Regions from separate parts of the Homo sapiens genome. Here region 2 is linked to region 1. Evidence: promoter capture Hi-C in human tissues and cell types (Jung and others, 2019). All regions are on one chromosome and are shown on one strand. The core of a region is centred on a gene start or on the middle of the fragment in contact, and the rest is flanking DNA. Distances in the headings are between cores, read along the strand shown.

What was found. Contacts are between HindIII fragments. The study calls those that stand out against the background at their distance.
Region 2: the fragment with the promoter of MXRA7 here is called in contact with the fragment with the promoter of RECQL5 in region 1 in 1 of the 25 tissues and cell types used here (aorta).

Annotation. Positions count from the first base shown.
Region 1 is chr17:75,665,281-75,670,222 of GRCh38, forward strand. It overlaps RECQL5 (RecQ like helicase 5), which reads right to left and starts at 1,874. Exons shown (of 20, transcript NM_004259.7): 1 at 1,764-1,874; 2 at 1,148-1,291. The coding sequence starts at 1,277. It overlaps SAP30BP (SAP30 binding protein), which reads left to right and starts at 2,058. Exons shown (of 11, transcript NM_013260.8): 1 at 2,058-2,198; 2 at 3,236-3,345. The coding sequence starts at 2,093. RefSeq lists enhancers at 999-2,198, 1,780-1,879, 2,050-2,299. The HindIII fragment of the contact is 12,020 bases long and covers 1-4,942 here.
Region 2 is chr17:76,708,666-76,713,607 of GRCh38, forward strand. MXRA7 (matrix remodeling associated 7) reads right to left here and starts at 2,300. Exons shown (of 4, transcript NM_198530.4): 1 at 1,940-2,300. The coding sequence starts at 2,281. It also overlaps a transcript of JMJD6 not described here. RefSeq lists a silencer at 2,322-2,531. The HindIII fragment of the contact is 3,325 bases long and covers 543-3,867 here.

The sequences.
Region 1 (4,942 bases), core at 624-3,123:
TGGGAGGGTCTCGATGTAATCCTAATTCCCCTCCTGTCCTTTCTATGAAAAAGGCAAGGATCCTGGGAAACTTGGATACATGCCCAAACCATTTCTAGTAATGGTTAAAAACAAGATTTAAAAAGTCTGGGTCAAGCGCAGTGGCTCACGCCTGTAATCCCAGCACTTTGGGAGGCTAAGGCAGGCAGATCACGAGGGCAAGAGTTTGAGACCAGCCTGGCCAACATGGTGAAACTCTGTCTCTACTAAGAATACAAAAATTACCCAGGCATGGTGGCACGTGCCTGTAATCCCAGCTACTCAGGAGGCTGAAGCAGGAGAATTGCTTGAACCCAGGAGGCGGAGGTTGCAGTGAGCCGAGATCGCGCCACTGCACTCCAGTGTGGGCGACAGAGCAAGACTCTGTTTCAAAAAAAAAAAAAAAAAAAAAGAAGTCTGAGTCTGCTGTGATATGGATGATTGAACTAAACAGCCATGAAAGCAGAGTACTGCTAGATGAGTGGGTACATCTGTGTAGACATGAGAGGACATTACTTAGAGGGCTTTTGTTTAGACATGTATCATTAATATTACATTGCTGCTCGCCTCTTGGCAACTTCCATTTGTCACCGTATCTCAGGTTTATAACATTATTACTCTTTCCTTCTCTATCTGGGACCAAGGCCACTCAACCTGCAACAAGGGAATTACCTAGGAGGCCAGTGACCGAGTTAAGTTATTCCTACCACCCTCACTGTTGCTGTTCGTTTGTGTGTACAAACGAACAATAATGAGAATCTGAAGTGTTTTCAAAGACCATGTGTAAATCTAGCTATGAAATATAGACCAGCTGGGTGGTTCTGCCACTAAAACTACAAGCTTTGGGCCGGGCGTGGTGGCTCATGCTTGTAATCCCAGCACCTTGGGAGGCCGAGGTGGGAGGATTGCCTGAGCCCAGGATTTGGAGACCAGCCTGAGCAACATGCCAAGACCCCATCTCTAATTAAAACAAATAAACGAAACTACAAGCTTTGACAACTCTAAAGATTTCCAAATCCAGTTATGGACCAAAGGTGAGGCAGTACGAAGGGTGAGGAGGAGGGTGTTCTGCCGCAGCGTTATGGTATAGCCAGCATAAATTTAAAGGAAGGTAGCTTGGTAATGTTACCTTTTACTACAGCCATGGTCGCACTCTCCTGTAAAGGCGTCTTAAAAGAGTCAAACCCAAAGACCTTCTTCAGCGTACTCCGGACTCGCCGCTCAGGGTCAAAAGGAAAGGTGGTATGGTGGCTGCTCATCTTAGCCAAGAACAGTGGCCAAAGGTTAAGGCAAAGGTAGTAAAAGGTTGCCACGAGAACCCTCTGTTTTGCATTAAAAATACAGATTATTTTTCTGTAACAATTTGCTATATTACACTTAAATAATGTATTATTTTTAAGTAATAAAGCTGAAGGTGAACTGCCTCAAGCAATACATTCCTCAGTAATTAACATCTCCACTTTTACGCTCAATGAAAATGAAAACATTGAACTATTCCAGGCCACGGTATAGCACAGAGCTAGAAATCAGATCAAGAGAAGAAACATAAATGTCTTCAGAACAGCTTGGAGAACGGGGAACCGTTTTCCTAAGATCCACCACCTGCTCCTACTTCTATAAGCGCAACCACGACGACCGTTCTTCCACCCCGGGACCCCGAACCCCTTCTCCCGTCTTCCTGAGCCCAAGATCCGCAATTTTCTCTCTTGGCTGGCCGACACCTCCCTCTCTTCACCCTAAGATATCAGAACCGGCCGTGGTCCGCCCAAGAATTAAAGGCTGCTGGCTGGTTCCGGAACTGTTCGAAGACCCCTATACACAACCCCAACTCAGAGAAGCCAAAGCGCTGGGAATTCAGCTTTAGGCAGAACCCACGCAATCTTATATCCGTCGCGCAGTGATGACGTAGCGCGAGCGCTGGCATGAGGGCGGAGCCAGGCGCAGGAAACTGCCGTTTTGATTGGTTTCCAGTGTGGCGCGGGGGTCTCCTGGGATCCGAAAGAACCTGCCTTTCCGCCCGGAAGTCGGCGTCTTGAGTCATAGGAGTGAGCCACGCCCGGGCTGTGGGAATAAGATGGCGGGGAAGAAGAATGTTCTGTCGTCTCTCGCAGTTTACGCGGAAGATTCAGAGCCCGAGTCTGATGGCGAGGCTGGAATCGAGGCGGTGGGCAGCGCGGCTGGTAAGGCCCAAGTGCGAAGCTGGAAGGGGGAATCGGGTGTCTGCCCGGAATGCTGTACCCTCGCTGGGCGGGAGGGAACAAGATGGTCATTGTGCTCCAAGCACCGGACCCCGAAGAATGGTCCAGGGTCCGGGGTGAGATAGAGCATTAGAGACTGTGGACTAAGAATGAAGAATCTCCTTCCCGTTATTTCGATTAATTTGCCTAAACTTACTGAAAGACTCCGTGCCGGCTATAGTGATAGACAGAGGGATGGACGAAGAGGGAGCGGCTGCTCAGCCACTGCCTGTTTCCCCTGGGCTCGTTGTTTGATGAGGGAGAGCGATAAGTAAAACATACGTGGAAGATGGTAAAGATTGTGTTCGTTAACTTTATAACTTTTAGTTAGGAATGTGCCCTAAACACATCTTGGAGCTTTTAAAAACAAACGTATCTGATGCCCAAAGTGAGAGAACCTAATTCGGTAGAACTGGGGTAGGATGTGGGCATTTGTGAACTTTTTAAGGATCCCAGGTGATTTTTCTTATTTTGTGAGTTTTTAAAGCCTAACGGTGATGTTCTCCTCCTCAGGTTGAGAAGCACAATGTTAGATAATGGAAACAGATTCCTTTGGGAGAATAAAGAACAAGTTACCTAACAACATATCAGGACCTTAGCTTCCTCATCTGGAAAGTGAAGGGGATTGGATTAGGTTAGGTACTTCCATGTTTTGTGATTTTGTGTGGTCTCTTCCAGTCAGAAAGTTCTCTGATGGTTTCCTATAAACACTTTAGTGTTTATCTAGTGTTTATAGCATTAGAAACAGAATTTAGTACTCGGTTTTGTTCCCTGACCTTTTAATGATTTTATTCAGTAAATGCTGGCCTTCTCAGAGAGCCGAATCTGGGCCTATTGTAACTTAACATGAGATTTAGGTTCCCTTTGTATCTTCAGAGATAGTCTTGGCCACTCAAATCTCTGGACATTTTTTCTTACATTGTAACTCTTGTTTTTTTTTTCTTGCTTTTTGTTTGTTTGTTTGTTTTTTAACCTTTCAGAGGAGAAAGGCGGATTGGTATCTGATGCCTATGGGGAGGATGACTTTTCTCGTCTAGGGGGTGATGAAGATGGTTATGAAGAAGAAGAAGATGAGAACAGTAGACAGTCGGTAGGTAAATCTCCCAGATCCAGAGCTACTGAAAGCACAATTTCATTTGTCAGATTTTGGAACTGTGCCAACAGTGTTCCATTTCATGGTTAGCTCCATCCCTTGCTCTCCCGTTTTGTTTTAGTATTAGTGGAAGAAACTGGATTGGATATCAGATCTGTTTGAAAATGTATTTTCACATGGATCATTTTTTATTAATCTTTGAATTGAAATTTGGGGGAAAAGATAGTGGATTATTTTATTTAACCCAGATATCAATGGGTGTTTTATGTTGATTTTTCCCTGTTTAAATGATTTACTCCATTTATAGCAGGCATTCATCCTAACTGGTGTATCATTTATATCTACAGTCAACTCTGCATTATTTTTAATCTTGGTTGGGGCTCATTTAAGTCTTCTCAGTTTATTAACAAGATAAGAAAGGAAAATTCGTTTTCACCTGCTTTTTCTTTTCTTTTTTTTTTTTGAGATAGGGTCTCACTCTGCTGTCCAGATTGGAGTGCAGTGGTGTGATCATAGATAGTTCACTACAGTCTTGAACTCCTGGGCGCAAGTGATCCTCCCACCTCAGCCTACCCAGTAGCTGGGACTACAGGTGGGCGCCACCATGCCTAGCTAACCTATTATTATTTTTTTTTGTCGGAATCTTGCTCTGTCGCCCATGCTGGAGTGCAGTGGTGCGATCTCTGCTCACTGCAACCTCCACCTCCCAGGTTCAAGCAATTCTCCTGCCCTCAGCCTCCTGAGTAGCTGGGATTACAGACACCTGCCATCACGCCTGGCTAATTTTTGTATTTTTCACAGAGACGGTTTCACCATGTTGGCCATTCTGGTCTCTAACTCCTGACCTCAGGTGATCCACCCGCCTCATCCTTCCAAAGTGCTGGGATTACAGGCGTGAGCCACTGCTCCTGGCCGATTTTTAAAATTTAAAAAAAAATTTTTTGTAGAGACGTTGTTTCACTATGTTTCCCAGTCTGGTTTCAAACTTCTGGCCTCAAGCAATTCCCCTGCCTCACCCTCCCAAAGTGCTGGGATTACAGGTATGAGCCACCATCCCTGGCCTTCTTAACTTCTTTCTTGACATTTTATTTGGCACTTTTTATAATGGTGCCCTTAGTTCTTGATCACAAATCTTGCCTGAAGTTCAGTAGGTGCTGGAGAAAGGAGAACCTGTGCTATTATTAACAAGAAAGTCTTTAGACACATAATCACCTGAGCAACATGAGCCAGAATTTAAGTTTGCAGAAAACGCAAGGAAATTGAAGTTGGTGCTTAGCATAAGACAGGCAGAGTTGAGTCTAGATGTCAAATCTGACTGCTTAGCAAGTTTTAATTAAATCACTTAAAATATATTATTTGTTTGAAATTTTTGTTACATGTTGGTATGTAAATGTTAGCATTAAAATTCTTTCCAGCCAAGCACGGTGGCTCATGCCTGTAATCCCAGCACTTTGGGAGGCTGAGGTGGGCGGATCACAAGGTCAGGAGATCAAGACCATCTTGGCCAACATGGTGAAACCCCATCTCTACTAAAAATACAATAATTAGCAGGGCATGGTGGTACGCACCTGTAGTCCCACCTACTCGGGAGGCT
Region 2 (4,942 bases), core at 1,050-3,549, 1.0 Mb after region 1:
ACCACTGGGAGTGGGTGGGATGACACAATATCTGTGTCCCCACAGCACCTGGCTTAATGTTTGCAGGCAGGAGTTTTGGGGGAGCTTTGGCCAGCTCAGGAAGGCCTGGGGACTTGAACCCAAAGGGGAAGGGCACTGACTTCAATTGAATTCTCCTGTGGGGTGGGTTCTCTCTGGAGGGTGCCTTAGCGGGAGGACAGACACAAGCCTCAAGTCATCCTCACTGGCACCTATGTCATGGGGGCTGCCTGGCACGCGAACCCCCATACTGCCTTGTCCTTCAGAGCACCCATTCAGCTTCAGAGGACGTGCATTCACCCAGACAGTGGCAAATTATGCGAGTGGCCCTATTTAAACACCACTGAACCTATTCCTGTAGGTACCATGTGCTGAGAGCCGAAAGCCTTGTAGAAAGTTCTTTAAGCGCTGTGCCCCACAGGATTGAGCTAAGACAGGGCGCCGCTAAAGGACATTTTGCACTTCAGTCCAGAGCCTGGTGTGGGTGATAAAGGGCCAGCCCTGTAAGGCCAGGACTGACTGAGTGTGCATGACGGCTCCAGAACTGTCTAAAGGCCTCTCCTGCTCCCGCGAGACCTCGATGGAGGCAGGAATCCCAAATATGGGAGCAAACACAACAGATCAGCACATGTCCAAACCGCGCCCCCTCCACCATCACCGCGTGAGGTCTGGAAGCCCACCCCAAGCAAGAACGGCAGGGCCTGCCCCTGCTCCACCCCATTAAATGTGGCTGGTTAGAATCCTCTCTAATGACACAATTAGTCACCCACTTGTCAAGCAAAGCGCCTGCTCAGAGGGGGTCTGGCGCACTTACTCAGCAAAGAGAAATGCCTCTGAGCACAGCCTGGCTGCCTCCTCCTCCCCCGAAGGGCTTCTCTCCAGGGTAAACCATTGTGTCCAGCACAGGACAGAGTGGGCACGCAGACACGCAGGCACGCTGACAATGCGCATCCCGGCTCTCCTCCCTTCCAAGAAAAGGAGCTCAGGGGTAAGAACAAGGGATTACAATCCGACTCGGAGACCCTGGCGGTGGCCTGGACCGGCCAAGCGTGGTGAACTCCAGGGAACATGGGCACACAGTGTAGGGGCTGGGATGAGTGGATGAGGGAAATCCGACTCCTCTCAGATATCCACAGGCAGGACAAGGTGGCCAAGGCCGAGCTGATGGACAGCATGGCGGGAGGCCTGGGGCAGAGGCAGGGAGGGCCGCTTTGGGGTGCTCACTGGTGCTCCAGGAGGGCTTTATCCTGCATCTTCACTCCATCCAGGCCCAGCTTACCTACAACCCGGGGGAGTGGGGGTAGGAGGGTGTTAGATGTGTAGCTTGAAAACGACAATAAAAAGGACTGCTGGGATCGGGTGCCTTTTCTTTCAGTCCCAGCCCACGGGCTTCACAAAACGCCACAGCACTGACTCTGAAATCTGGACTTCAAATTGGCTGAAAAAGAAAAGCCAGCTTTCCTCCCTCGCCCCCCGAAAGTCCTACTTTTTAAACATCAAGATAACTCTCATGGCAGGCCTGGAAATAAGCCACAGGCACGTGGATTTGGGAACCGGTGGGCGGGAGGGGTCAGAAGTGGGTGAGGAGCAAAATTCCAAGCCCTGGTCCCGAGGCCTGGGAGCCAGCAGCTGCGGAGCACGCCCTGGGCTGGGAGAGGCCGAGGGGAGGGGAGAGCAAAACACCTCCAAACAAACTCCTTCGGGCTCGCCCCTCGCCACACTTTCTGGGGGAGGGCGGCGAGTTTGCGGGGCTGCGGCTTAGCATGGCGGGACCTGCATTTCCTGCGGGCCGCGGGTTCTGCGCTTCCTGGGGGCAGCCTGGGCTGGAGGCCGCGGCCCCGCTCCCTGGCTCGGCGGGGAACGGCAGCGGCAGCCGGAGCCCCGGGGGTGGGGAGGGGGCCGCGAGGGCCCCGGTGCGTACCTGCCTCGCCTCCACCGCCTGCTCCTCCGCCTCCGCTGGCGCCGCCGCGGGATCCCCTGGCCCTTCGGGCTCCCCCGGTCCCGCAGGCTCCCCGAGCTCCCCCAGCCCCGCGGGCTCTCCAGGCTCCTCCGGCCCCGCGGGCGAGGCCGCCGGCTCGGGGGCGCAGGGGCGGGACGGCGCCGGGGCCCCGGTGGCCTCGGCCGGGGGCGCGGGTTCCGGGGGCGCGCGGGCAGGCTCCGGGCTCGCGGCCGCCCCACGCCGCACCAGTAGCCAGGCGAGCAGAAGGGCCAGCGCGGTGGCCAGCGCAGGCAGCGCGGCCAGTAGCTCGGCCGGCGCCTCCATCGCGCCGCGGCCGCCGAGTGCGGGCCAGCTGGGACCCCGAGGGAGCCCGCCGCGCCCCGTCGCCGCGCCCGGTCGCCGCGCCCCGCCTCGGGGCGGAGCCCCCATCGCCGCGCCCCGCCCCCGCCCCCTCCGGCCCCGGGAGGGTGACGCACAGGCTGCGGGCGGGGGTGTTGAGGGGGCAGAGCCCTGACCACCTGGGAGGCACAGGAGGGCCAACCCCTGCCCGGCCTGGGCAGCCTTGACGCTTTGGGGCACAATTTAGCTCAGGTTCAATTTGAAATACTGTATGAGGTGCCCTTAGGTTGTCATCTTTGGCCTTAGTACGGCGGTTCGTCTTAGAGCATTTTGGAAATGTGGGAATGCAGAGAGACAAGCAAACCCGGGAAGCTTCATGGAAACGGCAGCCTGGATTGGCTTGTAAAGCAATCATAATGCCGGATTACGTTCAGCCACTGCCGTTTTTATAGGCATGTCAGGAGTTGCTTTTAATCCTCAGGGTTGCCTTAATGCACTTTCACAGAGGACATCTCCAGATCCCGGCCAGTGAATGCTCCCTTCGGAGCTGAGGCCAGCAGCCTTCAACACAGGCCTCCCTGTTAACAGTAACATGGCTCCCCCGCCCCTAGACCTGAAATTCAGCTGCAGGTCCTTGGTCAACGCTATTCCTCTTACCAGACTTTCTTCTTTGCACAATTCCAGAATGCATGCAGGGTGGGAGGGTACAATGAAGGAAATGAAGGCTATTGTTTTTGTTTCTCCAGATCCTCCCAGGCCTCTGTTGCTGAACAGTGGATTTTGAGATAAACACGTTGTAACCAAAAACATACTTTCCTACCACTCCCCACCCACTCTTTAGTTATTTTAAATAAACACAGGACGGGCATGTCAGGTATCACGCCAAACATAAGGCCTAATGTTAAAAAAAACACGGTTCCAGTTTTTGCTGAGGATGCCTTTAATACTTTTTTGGGAATATTACAGTGCCTGAGCTGATCTGTGATATAAACCAGATATTAGATGGAGTGCTTCTTTTTAAATGAAGATACACAAACGAGACCCCTCAGCAACAGGGAGAGCTGAATTCTGCTGCACTGCACGATATTAAGCGGGCCATGCACTTCCTTTTAGTGGTGGTTGATGAAAAGAGCCTATAAACTATAAAATGTGAAATAGGCTTTATCTACGGGCGACTAGCTTTTAACCACTGTGGAAGTTTCAGCCAGTGTATGGGCCTATTTTTTTTCTTTTGAGATGGAGTCTTATTCTGTTGCCCAGGCTGGAGTGCAGTGGCGCAATCGCGGCTCACTGCAACCTCCACCTCCCGGGTTCAAGCGAAACTCCCACCTCAGCCTCCTGAGTAGCTGGGATTACAGGCGCCCACCACCATGCCCGGCTAATTTTTTTCTGTTTTTAGTAGACAGGGTTTCACCGTGTTGGCCAGACTGGTCTTGAACTCCTGACCTCAGGCAATCTGCCTGCCTCAGCCTCCCAAAGTGTTGGGATTACAGGCGTGAGCCTCCGCGCCCAGCCAATTTTTTTTTTTTTTTTTTAAAGAGACAGGGTCTTTCTTTCTTTTTTTTTTTTTAAAGAGACAGGGTCTCACTATGTTGCCCAGGCTGGAGTGCAGTGGCTATTCACAGGCATGATCATAGCTTTCTGCAGCCTCGACATCCTGGGCTCAAGTGATCCTCCTGCCTTAGCCTCTTGGGCAGCTGGGATTACAGGTGTGCATCAATGCTCCTGGCCCAGGGCCTTAATTTTGTGCTCCATCCCATTGTTTTAAAGTGTAAATACATTTTTTTAAAGTCCTGTTCTGCTGACAAAGTACATTGTTGACTTTCAAATGAGTAAGAAAGAAAATAAGGACAAAACAATGCCAAAAACACAACTCCAAATCATGTTGCTTTATTTAAAATGATGAACAAGTTTCACCCAAGTGAAAGTTTAAAATACCAACCCAATAGCAGATCCACAGGCTTTCATGGCAGACCCCATGGCTAGACGGACGCAGAACTAGGAGACTGCTCAGTGTTCTGACAACTCCAGGAGGCACGAGTGTGCAGAAGACAGTCCCAGTTCTTCTGTAGCATCCAGTCACTTTGGAGACAGCTGGCCAGGGCTAGCTCTCCTCCCAGGAGGTTCACTGGGGCTTAGATGACATTTCTTTTTTTTTAAAGACAGAGTCTCGGTCTGTCACCCAGGCTGGAGTGGCTTGATCTCAGCTCACTGCAACCTCTGCCTCCTGGGTTCAAGTGATTCTCCTGCCTGAGTTGACCAAGTAGCTGGGACTACAGGCATGTGCCACCACACCTGGCTAATTTTTGTATTTTTAGTAGAGACGGGGTTTCACCGTGTTGGCCAGGCTGGTCTTGAACTCCTGACCTCAAGTGATCCACCTGCCATGGCCTCCCAAAGTGCTGGGATTACAGGGGTGAGCTACGGCGCCTGGCCGAAATTTCTGAACAATGAGACAAAGTTGAGAGCCACCGCCTGGGGGTGCAAGCTCACCTAGTTTTGCTGCATAGGATGTCACATCTTGACACAAGCTAGTGGGAGGGGAGTGTGGAAGAAGCCGCCAGACTCCACTTCAAATCTACCAGCAATACCAGTACACACATCAAAAACAACTTACTCGTGGAAATACTACAGACAATCTAAAGA